Linked DNA regions of Homo sapiens: region 2 is linked to region 1. Evidence: promoter capture Hi-C in 16 types of primary human blood cells and fetal thymus (Javierre and others, 2016). All regions are on one chromosome and are shown on one strand. The core of a region is centred on a gene start or on the middle of the fragment in contact, and the rest is flanking DNA. Distances in the headings are between cores, read along the strand shown. Region 1 holds the start of IPPK (inositol-pentakisphosphate 2-kinase). Region 2 holds the start of TSTD2 (thiosulfate sulfurtransferase like domain containing 2).

What was found. The method cuts DNA at HindIII sites, captures the fragments that hold promoters and counts their contacts. A CHiCAGO score of 5 or more calls a contact.
Region 2: the fragment with the promoter of TSTD2 here is called in contact with the fragment with the promoter of IPPK in region 1 in 2 of 17 cell types (total B cells and non-activated CD4 T cells); the score reaches 6.1 in total B cells.

What each region holds. Positions count from the first base shown.
Region 1 is chr9:92,667,739-92,671,406 of GRCh38, reverse strand. IPPK (inositol-pentakisphosphate 2-kinase) reads left to right here and starts at 1,276. Exons shown (of 13, transcript NM_022755.6): 1 at 1,276-1,499. The coding sequence starts at 1,419. It overlaps LOC107987095 (a long non-coding RNA gene), which reads right to left and starts at 1,045. Exons shown (of 2, transcript XR_001746837.2): 1 at 734-1,045. RefSeq lists enhancers at 755-804, 815-1,264, 2,005-2,174 and a silencer at 1,305-1,484. The HindIII fragment of the contact is 1,551 bases long and covers 1,101-2,651 here.
Region 2 is chr9:97,630,608-97,634,774 of GRCh38, reverse strand. TSTD2 (thiosulfate sulfurtransferase like domain containing 2) reads left to right here and starts at 1,407. Exons shown (of 10, transcript NM_139246.5): 1 at 1,407-1,532. It overlaps NCBP1 (nuclear cap binding protein subunit 1), which reads right to left and starts at 954. Exons shown (of 23, transcript NM_002486.5): 1 at 860-954. The coding sequence starts at 893. RefSeq lists enhancers at 457-536, 94-929, 1,094-1,388, 1,157-1,486. The HindIII fragment of the contact is 4,009 bases long and covers 1-2,498 here.

The DNA of each region.
Region 1 (3,668 bases), core at 27-2,526:
TGCAGGTCCTCTCTTTGTGAACTACATAACTGCAGATGTTCTTCACAATGTGTATGTCAACCAATGCAATATATTGCAGCAGACCGAATGCCGAAGCACATGTGAGAACCTATTAGGTCAGATTTTAAAAAGATTTGCAAAAGTGTAAAACAATACCACTCCTTTATTTTGGTGGTGGGCGTGGAATGTAATGTTTACTTTTTTTTTTTTTTTTTTTTTTGAGATGGAGTCTCACTCTGTCGTCCACGCTGGAGTGCAATGGCGCGATCTTGGCTTACCGCAACCTCCGCCTCCTGGGTTCAAATGATTCTCTTGCCTCAGCCTCCGGAGTAGCTGGGATTACAGGCCTGCGCCACCATACCTGGCTCATTTTTGTATTTTTAGTAGAGACAGGGTTTCACCATGTTGGCCAGGCTGGTCTCAAACTCCTGACCTCAGGTGATACGCCCGCCTCAGCCTCCCAAAGTGCTGGGATTACAGGCGTGAGCTACCGCGCCCGGCTGTTTACTTTTAAACGAAACAACAAAAAACTTTAAAGCATTTTAACTTAGAATGTGGTAACATCGATAGCTGTAACCCACATTAGCAAAAGCTTGGGGCCCTCATTTTTATGAGTATAAAGTGGTCCTGAGACTACGAGTTTGGGAAATGCGGTAGCTCTACGAGGCGGTGCCATTCTTGCCGCCGCATCAGTGAATTTAGGAGAAGGAAGGTCGTTAGCCCTCTGCCTCACCGCCAAGCAGGAGCCTTGCGCTCCAACTGCGTCCCTCGAAGTCTTCAGGCAAAAGCGGGACTGGGGAGTCCAGTCCTGTGGCCCAGCCACATTTCCTCGCGTAGAACGTTGGACAATGTTTTCTACCTCACAGGACCATCCAAATGACTGCGTTAGGTATTCCCATGAAATGTACGATGAGTACACCCTATTCTACAGAAGCAAAAGCTGAGGCTCAGAGACGCCAAGAGGTTTGCTGGGGTCTCGCGACTAAGCGGTCCCAACACCCAGACACCCTGGCTACCCGGGGACTGCCGGTCACTACCGGGCGCCGAAAAGCCGCCGGCTCCTTCCGCCAGCTACACATCCGGCGCCGAGGCCGGAAGCTTCTCTTCCGGCTCCCAAGACCGCGTTCCGGAAATGAGTCGCTCTACCAGTACCTAAGATGGCCGCCGGCCCATCCACCGTCGCGATCGGTGTGAGGAAAGTGTCACGAACCCGGAATTGCCCGACTCCGTCATGGCAGGCGCCGGGGGCGTGGCTTCCGGCGGCCACAGCTTGCTAGTCGCCGCGGCGGGGTCGAGCGGGGGCGGCAGCTGACAGGCGCTCCTCCCCCGACCGCAGCGGCTGGTTCCCAGCGAGGCGGGCGGCCCCCAGCTCGCGTCCCCGAGTCCTAGCCCGCGAGGCGCCAGGGCTGCGCCTGGGCATGGAAGAGGGGAAGATGGACGAGAATGAATGGGGGTACCACGGAGAGGGCAATAAGAGCCTGGTGGTGGCCCACGCGCAGGTGAGCGGTGGACGTGCGGCGCAGGTCCGGTACCTCACTCCGACGGCCGGTATCACCCCGCCCCCATTATCCGTTTCCTCAACAGGGTCGGTTCCACGTCCCCCCAGTACCTTCCTCCTCCCCGGCCGGTCTCCGGAATTCCCCCACCCTCCAGCATCCCCCCCTACCGCTTGGGTTCCTCATCACCCCAGTATCCCCTCTCTACTGGGTCAGTCTCCCATTGCCCCAGATCCTTCTCCTGGCCGGTCTGTCGTCCCCTCAGTATTCCCGTTCCCCGTCAGAGTCAGTTCCACATCCCCCTCCCCGCCCCGTCGGTGCCGCGCTCAGCCTCACGCGGTGCCGCCTCCCGCCTGGATGCCCGCCGGACTGCCAGGCCGCAGTGGGGTGGAGGCTTGGTTGGGACGGAGGGCCCGGCCAGCACTGGAGGAAGAAGCAGAGTGCCCACAGTGCTGTTACTCTCAGCACCAAAAGAGTTCAGCCTCGTGAGACTACGGAATTGCTGTGCTGTTAATAGTAAGGGGATGTTGTCCACAGGTCCTCTTCTCAACCTTTTAGAATTTGAAGGCTTTCACCTGAATTCAACGAGGGTGAAAGTTTTAGAAACTGCAGTAAGATCTCGCAAAGGTGAATCCCAAGAGTGAAGCGTGTGGGTTTCTGTGAGGGCCCAGATCTCTCTGACCTTTTGCTGTCTGGTACAACCACGCAGGAATGTGGCCGGCTGGAACGGGGGAGGGGGGTGAGGGAGGCGAGGATAGGTGTCATGTAGGGAGGAGTTAGAGCATGGGTGTTAAAGGCACAGGAATCTCAGTGTCTACATTTGTGAAGTGGAACTAGTAGTAGAATTCACTTTGTGGGATTGTTGCAAAGACCAGTTACGCAGGAACCCATCAAGTTATGCTTAGCAAGTGATAATTGTCATCCCTTGGACAGATAAATAAAGTGAAAATCAGAGAGGTTAAGGGCATTGCCCGAGTCGAACAGCTTGTCAGGGATGATGTAGGCAGTGGAGTCCTGCCTTGCTTCTGTTGTTCCTATGCTGGGTGCATTGGTCAGCTGTAGTGTAAGCTGCAAACACCCAGGTAGCCCCTAGGTTGTGCCTTTGGATTTTGTTGCTCATTAGCACAGGGAACTAAAGAACAGAGACTACAAGCTTTGCTCAAGATCTTTAGGTGAATTAATAATGGACCAGGCTAACCTAAAGCTGTCCTTCTCTTGTGTAGTCCACTATTGGCAAAGTGAGGGATGTTTCTGCGTGAGTCCTTTTGTTGTTGGGTTACTGTGCTGATCCCCTGAATCCTTTCCCAAAACAAATACTAATCTTCCAATTCCTTGGTAAGATTAGATGTATCTCTGCATTTTAGGTAAACCTAAGACTTTTCTTTAGTGAGGGCTGATACATTAAATTTCAAAAGTAGTGGCAGATGAAGCAGCAAGTTTCAGGCTTGGAGCAAAAGGACACCCATGTTGAAAGAGCAGAGGCTTTGACGCAGTTGCCTCTGGCACTTGGATCTCTCTGCACGTTCCAGACAAGTATGTGTCCACCCCCTTCCCTGAGTAGGCATCTCCAGGGCAGCCTGGCCCTACCCTGTTGCACAGCTCTGATTGTAATGATTGTTTATTTTTATTTATTTATTTATTTAGAAACGGGGTCTCACTCTGTTGCCCAGGCTGGAGTGCAGTGGCGCGATCTCGGCTCACTGCAACCTCCGCCTCCCAGGTTCAAGCGATTTTCCTGCCTCAGCCTCCCGAGTAGCTGGGATCACAGGCATGCGCTACCGTGCCCAGCTAATTTTTGTATTTTTAGTAGAGATGAGGTTTCACCGTGTTGACCAGGCTGGTCTCCAACTCCTAACCTCAAGTGACACCCACCTCAGCCTCCCAAAGTGCTGGGATTACAGGCGTGAGCCACCACGCCAGGTTGATTGTTTATTTTTTCTTTCACCTTTTCAAATTTACCTACAGCCACCAGGCTGTTCTAGACCTATGCTATTCATTCTTTTTTTTTGAGACGGAGTCTTGCTCTGTCTCCCAGGCTGGACTGCAGTGGCGCAATCTTGGTTCACTGCAACCTCTGCCTCCTGGGTTCAAGCAATTCTCCTGCCTCAGCCTCCCAAGTAGCTGGAATTACAGGTGCCTGCCACCATGCCTGGCTAATTTTTTTGTATTTCA
Region 2 (4,167 bases), core at 158-2,657, 5.0 Mb before region 1:
TCTCTTCAAAAAACAATACACTAAAATGTTAACAATAGAATTACTCTAAGTTTTACTTTTTTGGTGTGTGGATTTGTGTTTTTGACCGATTGTAAGGCTTATGTGTAATATAAGCATCTTTTTTTTGTTGTTGTTAAAACTAGAATTATTCCATCTTTATGAAGGCAACACTGATCTCCACGAGCACAATCATCCAAACGGAGATGGGAACCCCTGTTCTAACTCTCTCAGAGGCCTGAAGTTAGTTTTCTAGCACTCTCTCTCACACAAGGGAAATGCGCTTACGGCCAGTTCAAAATCTGCAGTAACCTGTGTCTGTTTATTAGGGACCTCTTGGGCGCAGGTAAGACAATATTCTTTCCCTGCAGCTTGAAAGAAGTGAAATCAACGGATAACCACTACCGGAACAGAGTTCAGACTGCAACTCATGAGATCTCTCAGTCCTTTCCTTCAGTGAATTCTTCCGAGCCCTTTTCAGGTGCAGCTTTGAAGGTTAAAACGAGACACTAGGACCAGTGGGTCCCTAAGAGGCGGCAGCACAGACACAGGTGTGCTTCCCTGCTCCGTGGTTTTACGGACGAAATTCTGAAGCATCCTTAGAGACCAAGGGTCTACCCATGGGGTTCACCAGGCCTTCTTTCCCGAGGATCGGCCCTTGACTCAAAGAACTGGGGCGGGGGAGAAGTCGCTTTCTAGAAGCCGCCCGACCACACCGCCACCATATTCTCCTCTTTCCCTCCGCGGCTCCCCGCACGTTCCCGGGGAGAAGAGCTTCCAGTCTCTTCCGTGGACACCCAAAGACGCCGAGCCTCGGCTCCCAACCGGGAGCGGCCTCCGTGGCCGGGCCGCAGGCACTCACCGTCGTTCTCGTCGCTGTGCCGCCGCCGCGACATGCTGCCCTCCGGTGCGCCGCGGAACCGAGAGGCCAGGCGGTAAGCGCTGCAGGAACTGTCTGGCCGCTGGCCGACGCAAGGACAGCTGCAAGGCGCGCGGATGGGCCGGCACGCAGGCGCACTAGCTCGCCACGGCCCCGGAAGCGCAGGAGAGGCCGCCGGGTGGGGCTAGGCGCTGCGACAGCCGGCGTGAGGAAGCTCAGTGGGCTACGAACGTCTGGCACACATGCAACCGCCCCCTCGGGCTGCCTCCGCCTGCCGGCTACTTCTTTCTCCCGCCTTCCGCTCTATGTCCTTCCGGGGCCACGCAGAAAGTGCCGCCGCTTTGGCCACTCAGAGCCCCCGGGCCGCGGTCGTCGTACGCCTGAAGGCGGGTCGTGCCGGCGGCCGCTCTAGTCTCCGCCTCCGCTCAGGCCGGTCCTCCGGGGCTTCTCAATGGTTTCCCGGTGGCCTCTCAATGGTTTTCCCGGCGGCCCTTGCGCCGACGCCAGGAGACTTCCGGAGCTTGGTGACGTCACGAGCGAGCTTTTCTACCCAAATACGCGGCGGGGGAATAGGCTCGAGGGCGGTGAGCAGTGACAATTGCTAGGCGGAGACAGTGCAGGGAAGAGAGACCTTAGAAAGGATCAGGACTGGCGGGTATGTGCTCATCTACTCCCACTTTCCGGCTTTTGCCGCCTTGGGAAAAGTGGGAGGAGAGGTTGGGCCAAGCTCGGCATGCGGGGTGGGGCCTGGGCGGGAGGCGGTGCCGCACGTGCCGCCCCTTGGTATGGAAAGGCCGGCCCTGACGCGAGCGTGCGGCTCCGGGCTTGCCGGCTGGCCGTCATTTTCCTTAAGTTGTTTGCTTAGGAAGGAACAAATGATTGTTTTAGTAATCTGTTTTCAAGGGTTATTGGGTACCTATATGCCTGTGTGTGAGCGTCCCCTCCCCTGATGTCTTTATGAGCACCATACTGGCTTATCTGCTTTGTCCATGGCCATCTGAAATTTCACTCTCCCGGCCTAATTCTCCTTCGGTCTTACCCATTTCAGTAAATGACGTCATCCGTCGGCCGCTTAATCCAAAAATTTAGAGTCTTTCTTAGCTCTTTTCCCTCTTTTTACATAACAATTATCTGTAAACCCTGCCTGCTCTGCTTTCAACACAAATCCAGAATCAGATCGTGTTACTGCTTTGTTTAAAAGTCTCCTATGACGGCCGGGCGGGGTAGCTAACGCTTGTAATCCTAACACTTATGGGAGGCCGACGCGGGCGGATCCGCTTGAGCCTAGGAGTTCAAGACCCACCTGGGCAACAAGGCGAACACCGTCTTTACAGGAAAAAAAAAAAAATTAGCTGAGCCTAGTGTTTGGCGCCTGTAGTCCCAGTTACTCGAGGGGAGGGTTGGGGGCCGAGGTGGGAGGATCCCTTGAGCCCAGGAGGTCGAGAATGCAGTGAGCGGTGATCGCACACTGCACTCCAGCCTGGGCAACAAAGTGAGACCGTGTCAAAAAAAAAAAGTCTCCTACGACTTTCCATTGCACACTCCATGCCATGGCCTGTGGGGTTCTACTTCTCCTCACTGTACTCCAACCACTCTTTCTGTTCTTACAATAAGTCAAGCTTGTTCTTATTTTAGGAACTTATACTATTTCCTTTACCTGAAGGTCTCTGGTTCTAAATCTGCGTGGCTGGCTCTTGGTCACTTAGGTCTCAGCTCAAATGTCAGGTCCTTAGTGAGGCCTTCTTTGGTTACCCAATCACTGTTTTATTTCATTCAACGAATATTATATTTATTAGCATTTAGCACCTCCTAGGTGCCAGGCAGAGTTCTGAATGCTGAGGATGTAGAGGTGAACAAAGGAAAACCCCTGCTCTCTTGGCGCTGATATATTCTAACGACCCATTCAGGAATACCCACAAATAGTGCCATCATAGGTAGTGAGCAACGGGAGAGTGGTAGATGAGATCAGAGAGGTAGGGGGAAGGTGCTCTGTGAGGACTTTGGACATTATCCAAGTGAATTGAGAAGTCATTGGAGTATGATTTTTTTTTTTTGAGACAGGGTCTCGCTCTGTTGCCCAGGCTGGAGTGCAGTGGCACGGTCTTGGCTCGTTGTAACCTCTGCCTTTTAGGTTCAGGCAATTCTTGTGCCTTAGCCACCCAAGTAGCGGCAATTACAGACATGCGCCACCACACCAGGCTAATTTGTATATTTTTAGTAGAGATGGGGTTTCGCCATGTTGGCCAGGCTGGTCTTGAACTCCTGGCCTCCCAAAGTGCTGAGATTACAGGCATGAGCCTCTGTGCAGGGCCAGTCTGACTTATTTTTTTAATAGTTACTTCTCATGCTCCCAAAGGAGGAAGATAGTTCAGCTTTTGCAGTAATTCTAGCTGCAAATGATAGTAGCTTGAACTAGGGTGGTAGTAAAGATGGTGGTGCAAAGTGATCTGATTGGATTGTACTTCAAAAGCAAAGCTGGCCAGGCATGGTGGCTCACCCCTGTAATCCTAGCACTTTGGGAGTCCGAGGTGGGTGGATCACAAGGTCTGGAGATTGAGACCATCCTGGCCAACATGGTGAAACCCTGTCTCTACTAAAAAAAAAAATACAAAAATTAGCTGCGTGTGGTGGCGTGCAGCTGTACTCCCAGCTACTCGGGAGGCTGAGGCAGGAGAATCGCTTGAACCTGGGAGGCGGAGGTTGCAGTGAGCCGAGATCACCCCACTGCACTCCAGCCTGGTGACAGAACGAAAACCGTCTCAAAAAAAAGTATTTTCTGAACAAGTGAATGATAGTGTGAGAAAATAAGGAGTCAGGAATCATCCCAAAGTTTTTTTTGTCTGAATAACAGGAAGAATAAAATTGTCTTTTACTCAGATAAGGAAGACTGGGGAAGACGAAAGTTTGGTTTTGAACAGTTGTATTTGAAGCTGAAGCTAGCTGGCTTCACACACAGTGTAAAATTCACACACAGTGGGGTATATGAATTTGTAGTTTGGGAGAAAGGCCCAGGTTGAAGATATAAATATGGAGTCATTTATTATATAGTATTCTAAACAGAAAATTTCCTTTATGTTTCCCTTTTTTCTTTTCTCATGTAATTTTCAAATATTTACAGAAGTAGGGAAAATTTATGATGAAACCCCATGTACTCATCATCAACTTCAGTAATTCTTAATTCATGGGTAATCTGGTTTCATTGATATTACCTCCTCTCTCTCAATTATTTTGAGGCAAATATAGTTTTAAGTCCTTGGAAGTAGATGAGATCACCTGTAGGGTAAGTATAG